Linked DNA regions of Homo sapiens: regions 1 and 3 are each linked to region 2. Evidence: promoter capture Hi-C in human tissues and cell types (Jung and others, 2019). All regions are on one chromosome and are shown on one strand. The core of a region is centred on a gene start or on the middle of the fragment in contact, and the rest is flanking DNA. Distances in the headings are between cores, read along the strand shown. Region 1 overlaps LALTOP (lung cancer associated lncRNA targeting TOP2A). Region 2 holds the start of PXDN (peroxidasin). Region 3 overlaps LALTOP (lung cancer associated lncRNA targeting TOP2A).

The links. The method cuts DNA at HindIII sites, captures the fragments that hold promoters and counts their contacts. A contact is called where the count stands out against the background at its distance.
Region 1: a contact is called between a fragment that was not itself captured here and the fragment with the promoter of PXDN in region 2, in 1 of the 25 tissues and cell types used here (mesendoderm cells).
Region 3: a fragment that was not itself captured here is called in contact with the fragment with the promoter of PXDN in region 2 in 8 of the 25 tissues and cell types used here (H1 embryonic stem cells, IMR-90 fibroblasts, adrenal gland and 5 more).

The regions. Positions count from the first base shown.
Region 1 is chr2:1,570,391-1,575,116 of GRCh38, reverse strand. The region is part of intron 4 of LALTOP (lung cancer associated lncRNA targeting TOP2A); the gene reads left to right. Among named protein-coding and RNA genes, the nearest start is that of LALTOP, 53 kb to the left of the region's middle. RefSeq lists an enhancer at 2,442-2,943. The HindIII fragment of the contact is 6,127 bases long and covers 1-4,726 here.
Region 2 is chr2:1,742,062-1,746,820 of GRCh38, reverse strand. PXDN (peroxidasin) reads left to right here and starts at 2,306. Exons shown (of 23, transcript NM_012293.3): 1 at 2,306-2,565. The coding sequence starts at 2,366. The HindIII fragment of the contact is 6,203 bases long and covers 1-3,132 here.
Region 3 is chr2:1,553,284-1,557,637 of GRCh38, reverse strand. The region is part of intron 4 of LALTOP (lung cancer associated lncRNA targeting TOP2A); the gene reads left to right. It overlaps LOC102723730 (a long non-coding RNA gene), which reads right to left. Exons shown (of 3, transcript NR_168373.1): 3 at 3,083-3,468. Among named protein-coding and RNA genes, the nearest start is that of LALTOP, 70 kb to the left of the region's middle. The HindIII fragment of the contact is 7,991 bases long and covers 1-4,354 here.

The sequences.
Region 1 (4,726 bases), core at 866-3,365, 170 kb after region 2:
ATTCCTTCACAAACTTTATCGACCCATGAGACCAAAGCCCCAGATAAACTGAAAAACTGTGTCCTGGAAGGATAAGCCTTCAAGTCTTCTAGGGAGATATGTGTATGAAACATTCAGACATCCTTTTATTCCAGAATCTTAGCTTCTTTGCCTGATTTTTATAATATTATTCCCTTCCAATTGTATTGTATCTAACTTAGAAAAGCCTCTCACATTGCTATGGTCTGAATGTTGGTGTCTCCCTCAAATTCATGTTGAAACCTAACCCTCAAGGTAGCAGTATGAAAAGTTGGGACCTCTGGGAGGTGATGGGGTCATGAGGGTGAAGCCCTCATAAATGGGGTTAGTACCCTTGTAGAAGGGACCCCGAGAGCTCCCTCACCTGCCCCATTGGTGAGGACACAGTGAGAAAGCACCATCTGTGAACTGGAAATGGAGCCCTCATCTCTCAGCAACCCTGGCAGCCCCTTGATCTTGGACTTCCAGCCTCCAGAACTGTGAACAATAAATGTCTGTTGTTTCTAGACGCCCTCGTCTAGGGCACTTTGTTACCACTGCCCACACAGATGAAGACCCATGTTTATCCAATATCACTCAACGGCTTTCCTCCTCCTGTCCATGAGACCTGCTCTAACATACCCCAGCGGATCGTGAACACTTGGCATTTCTGATGCATTTTGACGCTTATCTAACTCACCCTCATGCTGCAGTGTGTCGGGTATTCCAGATTCCCCTTCACAGAGGGTCCCCTGTCTCATCCTCCTCCACTGCCCTTCACCGCCTGTCTGCCCTGCTATCATCTCCCGTCTTGTCCGGCCTCCCCCAACCACACTCTCCCTTCACCTAGCAGAAGAGAGGACTCCACCTGCCTGGAGAATGCTCTGGGTCTGACCCCTGCCTGCTTTTTCATGTATTTGTTTTGTTGCTTTTTCCTACCAACTTTCGTTGGGGCTAAAGTGCCTTGTCCTCTGTCTTTGCCAATCTGGGCGGCTGCATCTGTGGTTCCCCTGGCTGGCTGCTTGGTAGTTTGAATTTATTTTCTGTCTTCCATAAGCCTGACTCCTCTTTACTTCTAGGTATTTGAATCCACCTTTCTGCTCCCAGAAATACTTTCCTGGTGTTTGTACCTTTCCACACTCTGCCCACTCTATCCACCTTTTCAGAGTCAGATCAGATATCACATTTTTCTGTCAGAACTTCTCCATTCCAACTGAAAATGATTGCCCCATTCTCTATCATCCTTTTCCAACTTATGCCACCTTTTATTGTATCTGAAATGTTCTGGTTTTGATAATTTGAAAAATGTTTTGTATGCTGGCATCTTACTTCCCCATTGTCTTGAGGAGGGGGAGCTTCCAACGTGTTTCTCGCTGAGCCGGGCTCACAGCTTGCCTTCTGCTTGGATAGGGTTGTTGCCTAAGGATATTTGTTGTTTCACTGAATATTTTTGAATCTAAATACAAAAAAACAAACTTGGGCTTTTTTCTGCTTCCTTATTATAACCCCTTTAAACATATTTTCTTTGCAATGTGTAATTGCACCAACTTATTGGGCAAATATCATGCTTTTGTGTATTTTAAGTTCACAGATAACCACTCATCATTTCTAGCTCTGTATGTGTAAGTCTGGACCCTAAGTGCAATTTCCATTGTGTTAATATTGACTGTCTTTGTAATGCCTGTGTTTAGTTTGAGCACATTGGTTAATTTCACTTATATGATAAGGCATCCTACACTTCTTAACCATACTTTCTTGCAAGACTGCTGTAACTATTTTAATCAATGCCTTTCAAGGTACCCAGGCTCTGGAGAGAAGAGTGGAAGTTGAGAGGATGAGGGGAACCAGCTTCCTGAGGAAGTGCCCCGTCCTTGGCACAGGGCTGGGAGGTCTCCTTTAACCTTATTTGGCGGTCCACACCATTCACTTTGGCAGTTGAATCTGTCTTGGGATAGTCAGTATTTCTCTTGGTGATCTCAAAGTGCAGATTGGCATGGAGAAGGGCAGCAAGTCGTGGGCCCTTCCTGGGCAGAGAATCTACCTCATAGTGTAGACATTCATGGGGGGTTCTGGACAGGGCACTCCCCGCATGCTTTTTACTTTGTTTTGTTTTACTTCTTAGCCTTGCCCTTCAGGAGGCAGAGGGCGGTTGAGTCACTGTGGTCGTCTAAGAACTAAGGACATCTAGTTACGTACAGAGTCTTCGCCATCCTCCTCCGACCTCCAATATCCAAGGAACAACTTGCAAAGTGGTCTGTTTTCCCAGCAGGAAAATCCACTGGGGCGGGGCGTGGGCCAGTGTGGGTGGAGGAATGACTCCTCTCCCAGGGGTGAGATTCTTGAAGCTTGAATTGTCCGAGCTGTTGTTTCCTCCCCTTCTTGGTCACTGCAAATGCAATTATGAAATAATTCTCGGGGAAGCATGAGCAACATACTCTGCAGTGACTCCAGACTGGACCTTCCAGCTTTGATCATTTGCAGGACTCAAGTCCACACAGGAGATTGAGAGAAGAAAAAAGGACTCAGAGGCAAAGACAGCTCTGAGCCCCTAAGGGAAAGCTCAAAGTCAGGGTGCTAGGAGGACTTGCCCAGCTGTGTAGACACAGCTGAGCTATGTCTACATTGAGGCCGAAAGTTAGAAAGACATTGACACTAACCCCTGAAAGTAATTAACATAACGATCATGTATTGTCTATTACAGATTGGCGTGATGACTAGCTGCAGGACGGTTTTGGTTTTCTAATTGTTCTCTGACATCCCCATTGAAGCAGGTTTTATCATCTGTGACCTTGTGTCCATCCCTGTGATGTTGTGTGCGTGTGTGTGCATACGGACACATACAACACACGTCTTTGGTTGTAAAGCACACCTGGGGGAAGGTCAGCTCACACACAATGTACTGTCAGGGAGCTCTTCCCCAGGCCTGGCAGCCTCACCCCACAGTGGCCACCACAGGCCCATCAGCCTCTGCCATCGTGGTCTGCCTGCAGTTGAGTTTGTTAATTGACATAATATATGTTGAAACTAATTTTCATTGGCGAAATCAGTGGCAATTCAGAAGTGTGGATTGCTGTAGAAATACTGTGCCCGTCCCCCATGTATGAATAAGGGTCTAAGAACCTTGTAGGTGGAATGCCCTAAGCCCCTGGTGGTGCGTCCCACACCTCCCAGAAGGACCTGCCACCTGGTCTCTGCAGGTGGTGGTCTGCTGCCACCCAAGTGTGACCCTGCCTGTCTCTCTTCTGAGATTGGTTCATAACTCGTCACCCCTACGACCTGCAGATTGCAAGTTTAAGAGAGGACGCTGGGAGGAGAGCCAGAAAGGGGAGGTCGGGACATGTGAAACCTTGCACGGTGGGTGGGGGCAGGACAGTGGGCGGCTCAGGTGTGGAGACAGCATCCTTAGGGTGTGGACTGGGGCTGCCAAGTGTGGACAGCTCTCTGTCTCTCCAGGGAGAGCCCATGGGACCCCAGCTTCTGCAGGACGTGTGCTGGGGCTGGGTGGCCTCACCCCTGCTGGCTCCTCTCCTGGGAGTGGGAAGGCAGGGGAGGGTTTTCTTTTCTTAGATTTCTAAGAAAAAATGTCTGTCCACTATAAACCGAACTGTCTCCCCAGAATCCACACATTGACATCCCAAACCCCAGGATGACTGCATTTGGGGAAAGGGTTCTAAGGAAGTAAATCAGGTCCAAGGGGGCCATGAGGGTGGGGCTTTGATCCAATAGGACTGGTGTCCTTAGAAGAAGGGGAGGAGATGGCAGGGCTGCACTCTCTCCACCACGTGAGGACACAGTGAGAAGGCACCGCTGTCGTCAAGCCAGGAATGGAGCCCCCACCAGACTTAGAATTGCCTCATACCTGGATCTTGGACCTCCAACCTCCAGACTCAGAGAAATGCATGTCTGCTGTTTAAGCCGCCCATCTGTGGTGTTTTGTTATTGCAGTTCGAGCTGGCTGAGATAACATAGAAGAAAATGCAGAGAGAACGTGGGGAGACACCACTGTAAATGCATGAAACTCTTGAGACTTCAGGCTACAGCTTAAAAAAATCCTTCTAACAATTGCAAAGATATGGCATCTACCTAAGTGCCCATCAACTGATGAGGGGATAAAGAGCTGCATGTACACCATGGAATACTACTCAGCCATGAAAAAGAATGAAACGATGTCTTCTGCAGCAACTTGGTTGAAGCTGGAGGCCATTATTCTAAGTGAAATAACTCAGGAATAAAAAACCCAGATGCCTTATGTTCTCACTTATAAGTGGGAACACAAGGCTACGGGCATGCAAAGGCATGCAGGGTGGTATAATGGGCACTGGAGACTCAGAGGCGGGGAGGGAGACGGGGTTGAGGGATGGAAAGTTATGCCTTGGGTATGATGTGCACTACTTGGGTGACAGGTGCACTAAGATCTTAGACTTCACCACTGTACCTTCATCTGTGCAACCAAAAACCTCTTGTACCCCTAAAGCTATTGACATTATACAATTAAAAAAAAAAATCCCTCCGGCCATCACAGTCCCTGAGACCAGTCCCTCTGCTTGGTCAAGCGTCCTGGGTGTGGTTGAGGCGATGCCCCCAGGGCCAGCTGCTTAGCAACCCCCACCTTGCCTCAAGCTTCAGGCAGAGCTGAGCTCTAGACCCCTGGGGAGGAGGCTCTAGGTATGCATAGGGAGCATGCATCCCCTCAGAGTTGGGGTTCCGGCAGATCCTCAGCCCCCAACAT
Region 2 (4,759 bases), core at 1,057-3,556:
AGAGGTTGGGATGCTGCAGGTGGATGGCATTTGGAGTGTGAACTGGACCCACTTGAGTGTATGGGTAGGGTCCTGCAGGAGAGATGGCAACTGGAGTGTGAACTGGACCCACTGTTGTGCCTGGAGAGGATCCTGCAGAAGACAAGGCATCTGCAGTGTAAACTGGGCCACTGGGGTGTGTAGCTAGAATCATGCTGGAGTAACGGCTTCTGGACTGTGAGCTGGCCCCATTAAAGTGTGTGTATAGGATCCTGCAAAAGTGATAGCCTCTGGAGTGTGAATGGGACCCACTGAGGTGTGTGGATAGGATACTGCAGGGGTGATGGTGTCTGCAGTGTGAGCTGCAGCCCTGGGGCATGTGGATAGGACTCTGCAAAGAGACAGCATCTGTGGTGTGAATGGCACCGGTGGAATGTGTAGAGAGGATCCTGCAAAAGTGATGTCCTCTAGAGTGTGAACTGGACCCACTGGAGGGTGTGGACATCGTCCTGCAGGAGAGATGGCATCTAGAGTGTGAATGGCACCTCCGGAGTGTGTGGATAGGAGCCCGCAGGAGAGAGCACATGTAGAGCGTGAACTGGACCCACTGAAATGTGTGGACAGGATTCTGCAGAAGATACGGCATCCGGAGTGTGAAATGCACCACTAGTGTGTGTGCATAGAATCCTGCATAAGTTTTGGCATCTACAGTGTGAACTGGAGTCACTGGAATGTGTGAATAGGATCTTGCAGGAGAGATGTCTGCAGTGTGAGCTGGACCCACTTCTGTGTGTGGATAGTATCCTGCAGGAGAGATGTTGTCTGCAGTGTGAGCTGGGCCCACCGGAGTGTGTGAATAGGATCCTGCAGGAGAAATGGAATCCGGAGTGTGAGCTGCATCCGCTGTAGAGGGTGGATAAAATCCTGCAGGAAAGATGGCATCTGGAATGTCAGCGGGAGCCACCGACCTCTGAGGATGCACCCCGCAGGTGTGATGCGGGGCCAGTTCCAAGGCTGGGTTAGGTTTTACCCTGGCTTCTGTGTTGTACTCTCATTCTCTTCCTCTTTCTTCTAATACCTGCTCTGGGAGGCATCAGGCCATGTCCAGTGTGCAGGCCATGGAGACCCACACGGCAAGGAACTGGAACCCCCTGCCAGCAGCCTCGGGGGTCCAGTCCTTAGATGGTGCCCTGTGGTCAGCAATGCACCTGTGACCTCCGGGCTATGTCTCGTGGTAGTTGCTTTTGTGTTTTAACATAGCAACAGGAAACTAGCCTATTACCCACCAATCCCATTCCAGGCTGCTTTCAAACGCAGCTCAGGCTAGAACACCAGCACGGGGACACAGCTGAGACTTGGGGTTTGCGACGGGAACACGCCCATGCTGTGCCTCTGAATCTGGCACCGTCACCCTGTGGCCTGGGTTCAGCAACTTGGCCTCACCTTCCTTGTCTGTGAAATTCAGACTGGGTCCTTGTGAGATGATTGGAGAGAATGTATGAACTATGTGAGAACGCCACCTTTGTGCGTATCTCACGCAGTGTCTTCCCTCCTTTCCAAAGTCTTCTGCTGTCTCTAGACACACCCGACGTGGGGGGGGGGGGTTCCCTGGGTCTCCTCCTAGGTCTGTCCCAGGAGGGCACGCACTGAAGGCCGCGAGAATCCCGGGGGCTGCATTGCGCCGCGCCAAGGACTCCACACAGGACCTTTCATTTTCCCAACTGTGCTGAGCCAGGCGGCCGGCAGAGAGCAGGTGGCTGACAGGCCCCGGGGAGCCGGACCGCCTGGGTCTAATCTTCCCGCAGACTCCCTTGCTGTGCGCTTTGGGGCTTGGGCCTCAGTTTCCTCAAAAGGAATGAGGGGCTTTTTTGGAACGTTAAATAATTTCCTACGTGGTTGCGGGTAGGGAGAAGGAGAAAGAGAGGAGCGCGCCTGCGCGCCTGGAATCGTGCCCGGATCAGAGCAAGCGCTCTAAAAGTGTTACAAACATTAAGGCGCCAACTAAAAAACCCGTAGTGAGCGCAGGCAGAAACCACGGGTAAGAGAAGTGGAGAAGCTTCGCGTAGGCCCCAGGGTCCCGAGCCCCGAGTCTCGAGCGCAGAATCAGGGGTGCCAATGCTCTCCTCCGCGCCCCCGAGCGCTCGCCTTGGCCATGCGGGCCGCCCCACCGGGATGAGGGCGCTCAGGCCGGACGCTGGGGCCCCGGGTTCTCGCCCCGCCCCGCCCTCGGGGATTCAGAGGGGCCGGGAGGAGCCTCGCGCATGTGCACAGCTGGCGCCCCCCGCCCCCCGCGCACAGCTGGGACGTGGGCCGCGGCCGGGCGGGCGCAGTCGGGAGCCGGCCGTGGTGGCTCCGTGCGTCCGAGCGTCCGTCCGCGCCGTCGGCCATGGCCAAGCGCTCCAGGGGCCCCGGGCGCCGCTGCCTGTTGGCGCTCGTGCTGTTCTGCGCCTGGGGGACGCTGGCCGTGGTGGCCCAGAAGCCGGGCGCAGGGTGTCCGAGCCGCTGCCTGTGCTTCCGCACCACCGTGCGCTGCATGCATCTGCTGCTGGAGGCCGTGCCCGCCGTGGCGCCGCAGACCTCCATCCTGTGAGTGCCGCGGGGGACGCCGGGGGCGCGGGGTCCGGGGCTTCGTGGAGATCCGGGAGCGCAGGGGTGATCGGAGGTGGGGGGCGCGGAGGGTGGAGGGGGCATCGGGCGCGCGGGGGGCCTGGGGACTTGGGACGCAGAAGGGAACCTCCGAAGGGGGACGTGGGGGGACCTGGGCGCGGGGACCCGCTGGGCCTTTGTTCGCCCTGCGGGAGACGCCGAGGGGCGGAACAGAGCGCTGTGCGCGCGGCCTTCGTAGCCGCCTTTGTTCGGAACTCGGAATCCCCGCAGGACTGGGAAGTTGTTGGAGCCTCCGGGGCTCCCCCCGCTCGCCTCCCGCCGCCCCCTCTCATGCTCCGCCGGCCTCCCGCTTCCCCCTGGTTCGCGGCCCCTCCTCCGCTCACCTTTCCCCCGCTCAGGACCCCTCGGTCCCCCTCCGCTCCCCGAGCGCGGCGCAGCCCCCTCCGTCCTCCCAGCCCCCTCCGCCCCGTTCCTCGTCCTGTTCGCTCCCCTCCTCCGCTCCTCTTCCTCCTCCCCTTCCTCCTCCTCCTCCCCTTCCTCCTCCTCCTCCCCTTCCTCCTCCTCCTCCCTTCCCCTCCTCCTCCCCCCCTTCCTTCTCCTCCCCCAGCCTCCGCCCTCTCCCCCTCCCCCGCCCCTTGGAGCGCAGTGCCCACCCCATCCCCCCGCGCCGGGGAAGCCTCCCCAGAGGAGCCTCAGTTCCCGCAGCCGCGGCGCCCCCGCTCCCAGTGCCCCCGCATCTGCCCGGAGCGTCCTCTCCTGGGGTGTCCTGGGGGCCCCGCGCTTCTCAGGGGCTTTTCCTGCGCCCGGAGCGAGCCGGGCGGCCGGGGTTCCCGAGAGGGGCCGCGCGGTAGTCTCGGGGCAGCCCGGGTCTAGATGGAGCCGGGACTCAGAGCGGGTTTCTGCCTCGGGCATTTCTCTTCTTTCGCTTCTAATCCACGCGAGCGTGTTCGCAGTTGCGCTATACGTTTAACCGGATGCGTTGCGTTGGGGTTGACACCCTGTCCTGCGGGCCGTCCCGCGTCACGGTCTCCACAGCAGGAATCCCCATCCCTCCGCCCCGCGGCTCCAGGTACCGAGATGCCGCCAGAGTTCGCTGCAGGCCTCCTGTGTTCTGAAGCGAGTCGGATTCAACATTTTCGGGATCTGTGAACGCGGGCTGCGTTTCAGGCGCCGACTCTAATTTAGTCCTGTAGCGACTTTTCTGCATGCCAAAAATAGTTTTCACGTTTCTTAGCTGAGCCAGAGGACTTTTTGGCACCAGCAAAGAGTCTGCAAAAGTTGTAAAAAAATTGAGTGAACAATTCAGGAAGTGGGCGGCCAGTGCGCCTACCTCCGAAACAAAGTGCTGGGACAGACCACGGCTCCCAGGGGTCGCCGAGTTTGCAGGCTGCTTCCTGGAGGCCCTGGGGCGGGGCGGGGGCCCGAGTTCCTCTCCTCCTCCGCAGAGAGACCAAGGCTTTCTTTCCAGAGCCCGTGAATGGTCAGCCCAGGCCGGACGACTCGGGGGCATCTCACTCAACAGCAGTGGACTTTTAGAATGGAGCCGGGTGAGGTTTCCCTGGGTCTGGATAATGTAATTCTTGCTGAGCCAGTGGAAAAATGGCACCTCAAAGATTTTTCCCATCTGGTCAGTTTCATAAAGCTTGCGGTATGTTTTGCCCCGGAATATTAATTGCTTGTTGAAAATAACATGTTAAAATAAGTGTCGTAGGACACACATGGGGTCCTCTGCTCCGCTTTGCATGGTGTGCTCGTCCACAAACGCCTCACCGAATTTGAAAAAGGAGCTGAGAGTAGACGGGTGACATCATCGTCCACTCGCACAACACTTCCTCATAGGGTACATTTGCATCCATTTCTATCTTAAACTTTCAGGGGTTTTTGCAGTCTTCAGTGATACTTCGAAATGTCGCTGTTGAGTCACGTTGATTCTGTGAGGCAGGTAGACTGGTAGCTGTTAAGTTGATCGAATCCCTTATAGAACTAAACACTTTACTGGAGAAATGAACATACCCATTTTCTGGCGGTGGAAACAGAAGCTCTGGGAGAGAAGCGCAGCTCCTGACGCTATTCCTGTGGCCAAGAGGAGGAGCGTAGCGCTGGTGGCCAGAATGGAGTCCTGGCTGGATGCATTGCAGCCGCGTGATTTTTAGCAAGTCCCGTGTCTCCTGGG
Region 3 (4,354 bases), core at 1,486-3,985, 190 kb after region 2:
CAGCCTCCCCCACCATCTGCCCGGAAGGGTCCCACGGGACTGAGTTCCAACAGGAAGCTCCACTGGCTCTCCAGGGAGAGAGTTTTGAGGCTGCTTATCTTCAGCCTGAATTGATCCGTTTGATGAAGCAAATCCTAAATTGAAGGCCTGGGGCTTCCTTGGCCCCACCCCACCCCCACGCAGGGCAGGGAGGCCCCCACAGCCTGAGTCCTGGCCACTCACTGCAGCTGCCTGGTGCCCCATCCAGGGTCACGTCCTGACCCAGAAGCCTCGTCCAGGCCTCCCCTGAGGAAGAGGCAGGCCGGGTCCTGCTGGCATCTGCCTGTGACTCTCAGCATGGGGACACTGAGGACCTCATCTGGGCTGAGGGTGTCTGTGAGGCTGGATGCCAGCTGTGGAGACAGCAGAGAACTCTGAGCATCCTGCAAGCAGGGGCCTTTGTGATGCCTTGGGCCCCACTGGGGATGGCCTCGCGGGTTACGTAAAGGCAGGCAGTGTTCACTGTGCTCCCTGCCTGCCTGGCCGACCCCACCTCATTCTCACCATTGGAGGCAGGTTATTCCCATTTTACAGGAGAGGAAATTTAGACTTGGACAGACCAGGGCTGAGTCAACCTGCGTTGCTCTGAGTGATGGGTCTGGCTGCCATGGAAACCAGCAGCATGTGAGTCACTGGGACCAGCCAAGGTCACGCTCTGAGCAGGGAGGACTTGGGAACACAATGTCATGGACCGCCTGCACCAGCCGAGAGCTTGATGACATGTTCCTGGGGCAAGAACTCCTCCACCTTGCCCTCTTTCAGATGACACACCAAGTTAGAAGGAAAGAAGGCAACAAGTCATGAAACGAGCTGCAAAATTTCCTTATGTTTTGCTTTTCATACTTAGAAATTAGACAAGCCTGGTAATTCATAGATTTAGTTTAATATATATTTTTTAAGAAGTAAGGTCTCACTCTGTTGTCCACGCTGGAGTGTGGTGGTACAATCATGGATCACTGCAGCTTCAAGCCACTGGGTCCAGGAGATCCCCCGCCTCAGATTCCCAAGTAGCTGGGACCACAGGCGTGTGCCATCGTGCCCGGCCTGGCACATTTTGCATTCCTGTTGGAAGTTAGAGGGAGCCTCCCCTCTGTGTCTCACGTAAGTAGAGACTCCTGTGCCGGTGGCACCTGATGGCTCTGAGAGACAATAGGGAGGTTCTGTTTGCAGACTCAGAGCGGCCTTTTCGTTCCTACCACCCTGAGACCTGTGGGCCAAGGGCTCTTCACCACTTGGACTTCTGAAGTAAGAGGCAGAAACTTCACCAGCAGAGGCTGAGAAATAGGGAATTAATATACAGTTCTTAGTATAGGATGATGTGAGGGGTTTTTGTGTACACAATGGGAGACTTTGTATACAGCTCTCAGTATAGGATGATATGACGGGTTCTTGCATACACAATGGGAGACTTTGTATACAGCTCTCAGTATAGGATGATATGAGGGGTTTTTGTGTACACAATGGGAGACTTTGTATACAGCTCTCAGTATAGGATGATATGACGGGTTCTTGCGTACAGAATGGGAGACTTTGTATACAGCTCTCAGTATAGGATGATATGACGGGTTCTTGCATACACAATAGGAGACTTTGTATACGGCTCTCAGTATAGGATGATGTGACGGGTTTTTGTGTACAGAATGGGAGACTTTGTATATGGCTCTCAGTATAGGATGATGTGACGGGTTTTTGTGTACAGAATGGGAGACTTTGTATACAGCTTTCAGTATAGGATGATATGAGGGGTTTTTGTGTACACAATGGGAGACTTTGTATACAGCTCTCAGTATAGGATGATATGATGGGTTTTTGTGTACAGAATGGGAGACTTTGTATACAGCTCTCAGTATAGGATGATATGACGGGTTTTTGCATACAGAATGGGAGACTTTGTATACAGCTCTCAGTATAGGATGATATGACGGGTTTTTGTGTACAGAATGGGGGACTTTGTATACAGCTCTCAGTATAGGATGATATGAGGGGTTTTTGTGTACACAATGGGAGACTTTGTATACAGCTCTCAGTATAGGATGATATGACGGGTTTTTGTGTACAGAATGGGGGACTTTGTATACAGCTCTCAGTATAGGATGATATGACGGGTTTTTGCGTACAGAATGGGAGACTTTGTATACAGCTCTCAGTATAGGATGATATGAGGGGTTTTTGTGTACACAATGGGAGACTTCGTATACAGCTCTCAGTATAGGATGATGTGTGAGGGGTTCTTGCGTACAGAATGGGAGACTTTGTATACGGCTCTCAGTATAGGATGATATGACAGGTTCTTGTGTACAGAATGGGAGACTTTGTTGGGTGACGCTGTCCATGGGCAGCTCTTTCCTGGAGTGCTGGCCCCTTCCCTCGCTGCAAAGAGAACGGAGTCCCCCTCGTCTCAGCTGCAATGTTCGGTTTAATTTCATGCTCTCAGGGCTGAGGAGAAATCCTTGTGGGTTTGAAACCTTCCTGTGAAATCGCTGCAAAATGTGGTTATTGTTCCGACCTCCTGCTTCTGCCTGGAGTGACTTCTAAACCCAAATCTTCACACAGACATCATACATGCACACCCATAGAACACACACATTCACCACACACCACACACACGCATCACACATACATATATATGCATACACATACAATGCGGCTTCTGCGAGGAAGAAGTGATGATATCCAGAAAGCCACCTGGCATGACCCCAGCTCCATGCCCAGGGCTCAGGGGAGGGTGTAAAACTTCAGCAAGCGTTGTTTGTGCAACCCCCAAACTTACCCCTCTTATTTCTATGTCTCTCATCACAGCTTATTCTGAGGCAAAGAGAGAGATACTCTCAGTGACTTACATTTTAGTGAGAATTTTAACACTAAGATTTTAAGCAAGACTTTCCACTGCCCTCTTCTAATATAGCAAGTCTTTTGTAATGCGGCTTGACCATGTAATGGGGAATTTATAGCTCATGTAACTTCCCTTTCCATATAGTTTAAAAATCAACATAATGCTGTAAGTAAGTGTAAGATAAAGGAAAAATAACATGAAAGTAATTTATAATCTATAACATGCACTTTAATATGACAATGATCACTGACAACTGCCTAGAAGGTTGGTTAAAGTTGCCTGATGCCTGCTAATGAAGATAAAAAAGAAGTAAAACAATTGTCAGTGGAACAGTCTCAATGCTTTTTACTTCCAGTTCCCATTGTGAATGCATGACTAAGACGTCCTGAGCAGGGTTTTGGAAGGTGTAGTGATCTTTGTGCAACGTGGAGAACCTTGGTATAAAGTCCCTGTGAAATGAAATAATTCAGATGTGAAGCTGTTGTAAGTTGAGATCATTTTGCACCTTGAGAGGAATGTGGCCGTGTGGCTTGAGTCACAAGGTGTGAAGCTGCAACTTCTTTGATTCTGGGTCAAATCTCTTCCTCATTCTTGTCCTGTAAATGATTAGAAAGGACTGACTGGTACCATAGATGAGGCCCCTCAAGACGATTACTCCTCCTTGTGGAAAGTTAAAGCGAGTTTCCTTGGAATGCAGCAAGCTGTGAGCAATCCAGTGAAATAGATTTAACCTGTGACCTCCTTGAAACAGGCTGTAGCCCTGTCATACTTCTGTCTCTGCTTATAAAATGAAACTTTAACTTCTCACTTTAAAAGCAGAGCCCATTCATCTAGAGTCTGTGTTTCCAAGGTGATGACCCTCAAGCTTTGCACTCAAATAAACTCTATACTGAATCATCTTTTCCAAATTTCATTATTGACGATTGGCATTTTGCTAACCACAAAGGGATGTGAAGTGGGCCTCCAGTGATCCCCATTACATCACCAACAGCCAGAGCCTTGCTGTCAGCACACATGGCTTGGGTTCACCGGACCTCGCTGGAGTCAACACGGACCTCTGGGAAGGATCTTCTCGGGTCCGAACCTCCCAGCTTGTTGAAGTTCTGACTTTTATTTGAGCCACACAAATTCCTAACTCGATAGGGCTGGAAGACCTACTGCAAGCTTGGAGTTTTGTTTGTTATTCTTCTGGGATTCTGCTGACCCCAGATTCAAGACTTTGATTTTTTTTTGAAGTTAAGGTTCTGTTTTGAATTATTCATTAGAGTTTCTAGAACCTTTTGTCCCATTTGAAATTTTGGTCAGGAAGAAAACAGTTTCTCTTTGAAAAGAGAAATTGAAGCTATGTGGATTGAGCAAAATTTGTAATGTTTGAAACTGGCCAGATTCTGAAGGCCAATTCAATAAGCAAATGTAAACTTCCTTCTCAAGTGACCAGAATTATAAAAGGTCCTCTAGGAGGACGAGGTAAGGCCCAGAAGG